Regions from separate parts of the Homo sapiens genome. Here regions 2 and 3 are each linked to region 1. Evidence: promoter capture Hi-C in 16 types of primary human blood cells and fetal thymus (Javierre and others, 2016). All regions are on one chromosome and are shown on one strand. The core of a region is centred on a gene start or on the middle of the fragment in contact, and the rest is flanking DNA. Distances in the headings are between cores, read along the strand shown.

Region 1 (2,700 bases), core at 195-2,694:
TCTCCTTACTATTATATACCCATGCATTCATTCATTTATCCAACAAATACTGATCAAAAGCTCCTACGTTACTGGAGATATGCGAGTAAACAAAAGTTCCTCCTCTCATGAGCCTGTATTTTAGAACACACAAGCAATACATCAGCAAACTCTGGTACAGCATATAGTGACAAATTCTAGGGTGAAAAAAATAGGTGGGGATTATACAGATTTTATTTAGTCATACAAAGCCTCATTGAGAAAGTAACATTTAAGCAAAGACTCAAGTATTTTATCCTGTGCTCAAAAAAACTACCACAGGCTTACCTACAAGGCAGTCTTATTTTGAATACTCCTGACAGTTCAGAGTTTTAGCCACTGTCAGCAGAAGTCAGAGAAAACACTTTCTCTCCCACACGTATTTTTACATGGGGCTTCAAAGGGAATGTTCTCTGGCGGGCTTTCTCCAGAAGACTTTTAAACCTCAAACCATCTGTCATTAACTACATTTAAGTGGTTTAAGCAGGCCCAAAATCCGGCTTGAAAAAATTCAAAGAAAACTTAACACTGCTTAGGAACGGGGGGCGGGGAGAGAACGTTTCACTTTAGCCAGCATGAGCTACATTAACCTGAATTTTTCCAACTTCAGTACAACCTTAGTTTTATTTCTGGCGTGTTGGCAAGAAATATACACACACCACAGTACAGGTTAGCAGAAAATTAGAAGCACCATCCGGTCAAAACCGGGCTGCGGAGATGGGAGAGCAATACACGAAGGAACTTTTGGCTACACTCAATGCTTACGGAAAAATGCCGGACATTATTAGATGTTAAGACTCCCAAAATTAGCATTCAAAAAGGGATAGGCTGAGTCTTACGAAACAGATTGTATAACGTCTGGAAATGGGCCCTATCTACTACAGGCAAAACAAGTACCAGGAAGAATTCCTGAGAGAAACAGATCTTTTCAGCGCGCATGTGGGTGGCTCTGAAAAGAGCCTTTGGGTATGTAATCAGTGAGTCCTTGAGACTCAAGCCCTCTCGCCGCGGATACGACGTGCGAGCTGGATGTCCTTGGGCATGATAGTCACCCGCTTGGCGTGGATGGCGCACAGGTTGGTGTCCTCAAAGAGCCCCACCAGGTAGGCCTCGCATGCCTCTTGCAGCGCCATCACCGCGGAGCTCTGGAAGCGCAAGTCGGTCTTGAAGTCCTGCGCGATCTCACGCACCAGACGCTGAAAAGGCAGCTTTCTGATCAGCAGCTCGGTGGACTTCTGGTAGCGGCGAATCTCGCGGAGAGCCACTGTACCAGGCCGATAGCGATGGGGCTTCTTGACACCGCCGGTGGCCGGAGCGCTCTTCCGAGCCGCCTTGGTGGCCAGCTGCTTGCGCGGAGCCTTGCCGCCGGTGGACTTGCGAGCAGTCTGCTTCGTACGCGCCATGCCTTCAGAGCTAGATTCACTTCAGGAGAAAGAGAAAGCTAGCCGCTTATTTATAGTGAGAGTCTGAAGCTGATTGGACAAAAGTATGCTGAAGGCCTACCCAACAGTAACCGGATTGGCGAAGGACTCAAATTTTTGTTGTTCACCTATTCCTCTGACAGACTTAGCAGTTCATGGTCTCCATATTTTATTTTCTATTTTCGCTATACAGTTGTTCACTATACTAGCGATTTCCAGTGGAAATGAGAGCAATATAAGTAATTTACACTTATCTAGGAGAACATTGTAACAAAACAAGGAAAAATTAATTTTTAATATTTTGCTTAATCCAATATAGCCAACATATTTCAATGTTATCGAAATTAAAATTGTTAGGTATTTTACACTTTTTGGCACTGACTTTTCCAAATGCAATGTGTATTTTATATAAAATTCATGCTATGGAATTTCCAATGATCACTATCCACAATTGGCTAGTGGCTGCAATACTGGACAGGACAGCCTTATACACCTGTCCCCTCAATTTTCTATCTTTTGACCACTTAAATTTAAAAAACTTCTATTTTTATAACCAAGAAAAGCTGGTTCGCATGTGAGAAATTCAAGGCCAAAAAATGTCAAAGAAACAACTTTATGTGAACTTTTCACTTTTAGATTAAAGTAATTCCATTGCAGCTTATTTTTCCAATACTCTAGAAATGTAATTCATTTTCTTTTAAGAATCTATTCCATTCGTACATCCAGATCTGATTCAGATTAAAAACATCAAGTCAGATATTTTAAAAGTGGAATTTACCATGCTGAAACAAATTAAGTCATCTCTGTACTAAGAAATCAATTTGTGTGGCTGGGGGTGGGAAAGCTCGGGAAATTTTAATTTCAATGAATTTTCAGAAAATGCTTCAAAGAGAACTACCTGGCACCATAAGTAACTGTTCTAATTAGTCTAATAATTATTCTCAACTCAATCATTAATGTTCAAATGCAATTAATTATACAGATTCGAGAGATATTTCTCAGAAATGAAGAATCCAAGTCGTTGATCTAGATTTGGATTGAACGTCGAATGCCCGGTTTGTTATTTACCAAGACCCAGAAAACATCTGGCCCCAAAGCAGACATGTTTGCTTCAACAGACTAAAAGTAAAACCCGACGGTGAACCATACAGAATTCAACATACTTGGATAATGCCAGCTTAGGAAAAACTAAATTTTCTTCCACTAAGCTTAAGATGAAGGCGTGTTTAATACTTTTAATGTTATCCAGGCTTTTTATAAA
Region 2 (2,700 bases), core at 20-2,519, 1.3 Mb after region 1:
AATTTTGCGGACCCACCAAAGAATGCAGCCCTTCTTTTCTCATGGTCATAAAAATATCACATTCGGTTGGGCGCGGTGGCTCATGCCTGTAATCTCAGCACTTTGGGAGGCCGAGGCGGGCGGATCACTTGAGGTCAGGAGTTTGAGACCAGCCTGGCCAATATGGTGAAACTCCGTCTCCAACTAAAAATACAAAAATTATCCGGGTGTAGTGTTACACACCTGTAGTCCCAGCTGCTCGGGAGCCTGAGGCACAAGAATCGAGGTGGAGGTTGCAGTGAGCGAGATCGCACCATTGCACCCCAGCCTGGACAACAGAGTGAGACTCCGTCTCAAAAACAAACAAACAAAAACAAACACATCACATTCTTATTAGTCATTTGAGGGAACCTGGAGCAATATGATCTGAGAGGCTAGGCTTGGCTAATCCCTAGAAAAAGTAGTAATACATCTAAGAAAGAAATCCCTCTTAGGGAACACCCGAGGCTGCCAGGTGACACAACAAAACTTTCTCATAAAAGCGTTTGATTAATCCGATTAACTTGTAAGCAAGCCATGTGGCAGAGGTAAGAGGCCAAACACCAAGGCACCAGTCCTGATTCTAAACAAGTGCTGGTCCATTTCTTAACTTTGGGATCCATTTTTTCTTTGTGATGGAATAGCAAAAGGTCAAAGTGGAGGAGGACTCAGCCCTTGGGTGTCTCCTCAACGAGGGTTTCTCGAAGGTAAATTGGGGAGGAAGGGAGAGCCCACGGCAGGTCAGTCCAACCTGCCAGTCACCACCTCTTTAAGGCCACAGCCCTGCGGGAGCAATCCTTTCAAATCCCCTTCCTTCCTTCTTTTAGAACGCCCCTAGAACGCCGATTAGGACTTCTCATCCCGGTCGGGCCTGCGGCTCTCTGTGACCCCACCTCTGGATTCAGCTTTTCCCAGGGATTCACACTCGGAGCTCAGGAGAGATGCTGCGATTACTCTGGAGACGGGAAGACAGGCGGGGCTGACGGGGCCCAAGGCCCCTAATCATGACCGGGGCCAGCTGGCAGGAGGGTCCTAAGTATACGGAGGGCGGCGGGACCCCCCCCACCACGCCCCTCATTTTCCGGGGTAGCGCACAAAGTCTGTGAGGCACTTACCCGAGTCTCGTGGCCGTCCGAGGGGCGCGGGAATCCCAGCTGAGGCCCGTGACGCGCCGGAGCCCTAGGCGTGGGCAGGGCCAGCACCAGCCCTAAGACAGAGAAGACGAGCGGAGCCCGGCTCCGCCAGGAACAGGAAGGCGAGGGAAGGTGAGGATGCGCTTCCGGGGCTGCAGGCGGGGAGCCGCCCCGAGTCCAAGCCGGAGAGAGCTGGTTCTCCCCCTGGCGATACGTGTGTGAGCCTCTGAGGCCCGCCCTAAGCACTGCTGCCCCGATCTAGCAAGACAAGAAGACAGGAAATTTATGACAGCCTGAAAAAGTCTTTAAAAGATACACACTGGAAGAATTTCGTAGTAAGATGAGGAAAAAAAAACGTGTTTCCGCCCGGTTTCGAACCGGGGACCTTTCGCGTGTGAGGCGAACGTGATAACCACTACACTACGGAAACCCACTAAGGGCTTATTTTTCAGAGTAAATAGTTCTTCCTGCCTAGTTCCGTGTTTCTTCGTTCCAAGTGCGTGTTTTGCTGATGTGCGCGTGCGTCTCTGTACCGACCTCTCAAACCAGAAAAACCAATGAAAAGCTCAGACCCAGCCCCTCCAGTGTTCAAACTGAAGCCATAGAATTTATTCTACAAATGACTGAATAGGGAAGAACACAATAGAGACTTTAATTTAATCTCTGAACGGTCCTTCGTTCTTCGGCCAAAATGGCCAGGCAAGGCTGGGCACAACTTGGGTAGGGCGAGCGTTTCTCTGGCGTAGTTGGCGTTACCACGTGGTCAGTGGCAGAATGCTCCGCAAAGAAATGATAACCCCATATGTTGTCGGGAGCTGCCCCTCTTGCTTCTGAGTCTTCCAGGCAAATTTATCTTGCAGGAATTTCCTTACTCCTGCGGAGTCAGAAAGTTGTAAAACGACCCTGCTTACACCGAGCCAGCCAGGAGTCGAACCTGGAATCTTCTGATCCGTAGTCAGACGCGTTATCCATTGCGCCACTGGCCCTGCGCGTACCTTAGGGGCGAGGTATTTCATAAGAAACTAGGTTGTACCCGTAATATCTGGGTGAACGCCTGTAAGCCGCGTTTGCCCGCTGGTCCAGGCTCGCAGCGCATGGACTCTCTGGTAGCTACTTCTGCACACGCCCCGTGGCCTTCATTCCTTTCTCGGTCTGTCTCTGCCGGCTGAAAAATGGCGGTGAAAAGCAAGCCCTGCATCCTCTCTGCCCCAATATCACCGCTCCATTAATGCGTTCGTTCATTCAACCAGTATTAGTGTTCAAGGCACTGCAGATAACGGTGAAGAAAACATGAGAGACCCTTGCCCTCAAGATTACATGGCAGTGGCGGAAGCGGATAATAAAGCATTAAATAAACAAAATAATAGTGATAAGCGATTGGAGAAAAATAATAATAAAACAGGGAAAGAGGATAGGAAAGGCCAGCAGTGAAAGTGATGAATGAGGGATAAATGCTGATATCGGGGAAATGAGTGATCTGGAACAGGGAAAAATCGCTAGGGAAAAGGCCTGGAGGTGGAAGCAGGCTTGGGAGTTATGTTGAGGAGGC
Region 3 (2,700 bases), core at 19-2,518, 1.3 Mb after region 1:
TCTATGAATTGTAACAAAAAGATATTTACAAAATGTGGTTTTACTACCTCTAATTTTAACATATATCAGACACTTCAGAATATCTAAAAAGAATAGACATTTCAAAAAAGCTTAGCATTGTCAACTACATACATAGTAGTGAGGAAGCGAATGCACACAAAACAATGGATAGAATATGAAAATGTCTTCTAAATATGACCAGTCTAGCATAGAACCTTCTTTTTTTCCTTCTCAGGTCTTCGAGCTCCATGTCATCTAACCCACTGAACAAACGTGAACGTATCGCTTCTAGAGGCCGTCTAACAACTCAGTTTCCAAAAGTCAACTCCGGAAGACATGTATTTTCTATGATTTCTTTTAAACAAATGAGAATTTACAAGATGTGTGACTTTCTAACTCTATCATACGTCGGCAACCTCTTTCCATCTAGAAGGGCTAGATGTGACAAATGTTTTCTATTAAAAGGTTGGGGTGGAGTTGAGAGCAGCTTTTTCATATTATATACACAGGCCTTCCGTAAACGGCCTGTGAATCTTCCCAGAGGATGGAGGGCATTTCCAACGGGCCAAACGTGGCCTGTCATTCTACCATTTGTCTCTTCCGACAGCAAGGTCTGGTAGTACGGAGACCAACCGCCCGATCGCCGCTAACCGTTCCACCCGTCGTCGTTCGGGACTTCGCTCACCTCCCAGGCCCGTTAAGGCCTTTGTCCGTTGTCGTTAGGACTAGGTAGGTCTCGCCCAATGGCGACAGAGTGGTCACCCGGGACCCAGATCTGGCGGCTCCGTGGCCTGAAGAGGCGGCCGAGCCTGCCTGCGTCCCTAGGCCGCCTTCCCGGGCCCTCCATGCCCTAACGCCCTCCGCCGCGCGGCGTTCGAGCGGCCGCCATGCTTCCCGGCACGCTACTCCCGCCGCCACCCAAAGGCGCTGCGTCCAGGCTGCTCGGCGGGGGTTTCGTCCAGGCCCGGCAGGCTTGGGCCGGGAGACCCGACGGCCGGCAGGGTCCGGACTGGGAGAGGCCGCCGCCGCCATCAGTCACCGAGGTAGGGTAGGGAAGAGACGTTCGCCACCGCTTCAAGGCCTGGGCCCAGCCAGTGGGCAGCCACAGCAGAGGCCTCCGGTATCTGCAGGGCAGAGGGCGCGGCCTGTCCCGGGGCGCCCCCTAGCTCACCCGCCGACCCGGGGCCGGAGGGCCTGGAGCGCCCTGGAGGAGCGGCCCGCGCTCTGCGTCTCTCCGCGCTCTCTGCCAGACCGGAACTCTTGCAGTGATTTCTTACGGGGAGTAAGGATGAGGTGGGGAATGAGACTGAAGAAATGGAATTAAAAAGATAACTATAACTAAATAAAGAGGAGCCCTGCAGTAATGTAATGAGCCATGAACTGAAGAGTAACATTTATTCAACTCTGCCTGTGAAGGAGGGAGAGGGAAAGACAACTAGAGACAGAGGAGAAACGGAAAAAGGAGGTGAGATTTCAAAACACCGGTAGGTTCTGAAATTATTTTCGGAGTACAGAGTACTTTTTGCTGTCCTTGGAGTGGCTAATAAAAACAAAGAGTGCTTTTATTCCGGAACTCGGAAAATTTATTTTTTAAAAAGAGAGAAGACCATGTCACAAAGAGCAGGTAGGAAAACGTAGCGTAAACTTAAACTCGATTTGTGTCTAAATACTAAAAGTACGAACTGTCAGGAGTGGGATTCGAACCCACGCCTCCAGGGGAGACTGCGACCTGAACGCAGCGCCTTAGACCGCTCGGCCATCCTGACGCGCTTATGCTACATTGTGCTCAGGACTCACTTCTGTCTCTTGTCTAAACGCTATTAGTTCCCCATCCACCAGCCGCCCCCCTACCCCATGTCCCCACCCCCGCCCACCCCCTTGTTGTTCTTTTTCTCAAGATATGGGCATTCCTGGGTTAAAAGGTAAGCCGCCTCTCCGCGAACTGCCTCGGACGGCGCTGCATAGGACCGGTTGTCCGGGCCACAGAGCGGCGTCTCCCGAGTGAACGCCGAGTCACTCCCAGGCTGCGCGGGGAGGGCTGCGGCGGGTGGGGCGGCGGGCGAGGGAGGGCGGGTCGGGGTAGGGGGAGCGGGACGGGGGCGGGGGCGTGGGAGGGGCGGGGCGGGCGTGGGAGGGGCGGGGAGGGGGCGGGGCGGGCGTGAGCCAGCCCAGGGCCGAGTGACTAAGGCGGAAGACGGCGATGGCGCTCTGCTCTCAACTGAATTCTAGTTAAAATAATGGCAATCCTGTTGAACTCAACATTACTAGAATACCTGGCTTAAATTTACACTTAATTCCCAGGAAGTTTTAGGCTTGCTCCAGTTTTTGCTGGAACAAGGTGCTCGCTAATCCTTCTCCTTTGCGTTGTGCTGCAAATCTCCCAGCACGTGGTTACCCTTGGCAGGGCCGGTGGAGGGGACAGGAGCGTGGGAAGCCTGGCTTGTCTTGCCTCTCTGTCGGAGTTTATGGAGGATTTGCGCACTTTTCGGTGTGGATGTTATACTGTAATAAAAACTTTAAAAAGCAAAAGCAAAAACAGCAACAACAAAAATGGGGAGTAGCTTATGTATTTTACTAAACCTGGCGCAGCGGGTACTTGATAGAAGGCCTTGAGCACAACAACTTTTCTAAACATAAACAAAGGTCAGAGGTGACCTACTTCAAATTTTGTTAGCAAGGGTTAGCAGTCAGGATGCCATG

The links. The method cuts DNA at HindIII sites, captures the fragments that hold promoters and counts their contacts. A CHiCAGO score of 5 or more calls a contact.
Region 2: a contact is called between the fragment with the promoter of HMGN4 here and the fragment with the promoter of H3C10 in region 1, in 9 of 17 cell types (non-activated CD4 T cells, monocytes, activated CD4 T cells and 6 more). The highest score is 9.5, in non-activated CD4 T cells.
Region 3: the fragment with the promoter of HCG11 here is called in contact with the fragment with the promoter of H3C10 in region 1 in 5 of 17 cell types (monocytes, naive CD8 T cells, M1 macrophages and 2 more); the score reaches 10.5 in monocytes.

What each region holds. Positions count from the first base shown.
Region 1 is chr6:27,808,795-27,811,494 of GRCh38, reverse strand. H3C10 (H3 clustered histone 10) reads right to left here and starts at 1,444. Exons shown (of 1, transcript NM_003536.3): 1 at 959-1,444. The coding sequence starts at 1,421. The coding sequence ends at 1,011. RefSeq lists enhancers at 435-1,106, 1,201-1,490, 1,107-1,778, 2,462-2,700. The HindIII fragment of the contact is 5,605 bases long and covers 1-2,649 here.
Region 2 is chr6:26,536,935-26,539,634 of GRCh38, reverse strand. HMGN4 (high mobility group nucleosomal binding domain 4) reads right to left here and starts at 1,269. Exons shown (of 2, transcript NM_006353.3): 1 at 1,134-1,269. It overlaps TRR-ACG1-2 (tRNA-Arg (anticodon ACG) 1-2), which reads right to left and starts at 2,137; the gene lies at 2,065-2,137. TRV-CAC1-6 (tRNA-Val (anticodon CAC) 1-6) reads right to left here and starts at 1,581; the gene lies at 1,509-1,581. RefSeq lists enhancers at 649-1,058, 2,319-2,700 and silencers at 1,549-1,598, 1,992-2,285. The HindIII fragment of the contact is 7,010 bases long and covers 1-2,700 here.
Region 3 is chr6:26,520,274-26,522,973 of GRCh38, reverse strand. It overlaps HCG11 (HLA complex group 11), which reads right to left and starts at 1,268. Exons shown (of 1, transcript NR_026790.1): 1 at 1-1,268. It overlaps TRL-CAG1-7 (tRNA-Leu (anticodon CAG) 1-7), which reads right to left and starts at 1,766; the gene lies at 1,684-1,766. LOC107986583 (a long non-coding RNA gene) reads left to right here. Exons shown (of 4, transcript XR_001744057.3): 1 at 1-1,465. RefSeq lists silencers at 813-1,332, 1,563-2,162. The HindIII fragment of the contact is 10,867 bases long and covers 113-2,700 here.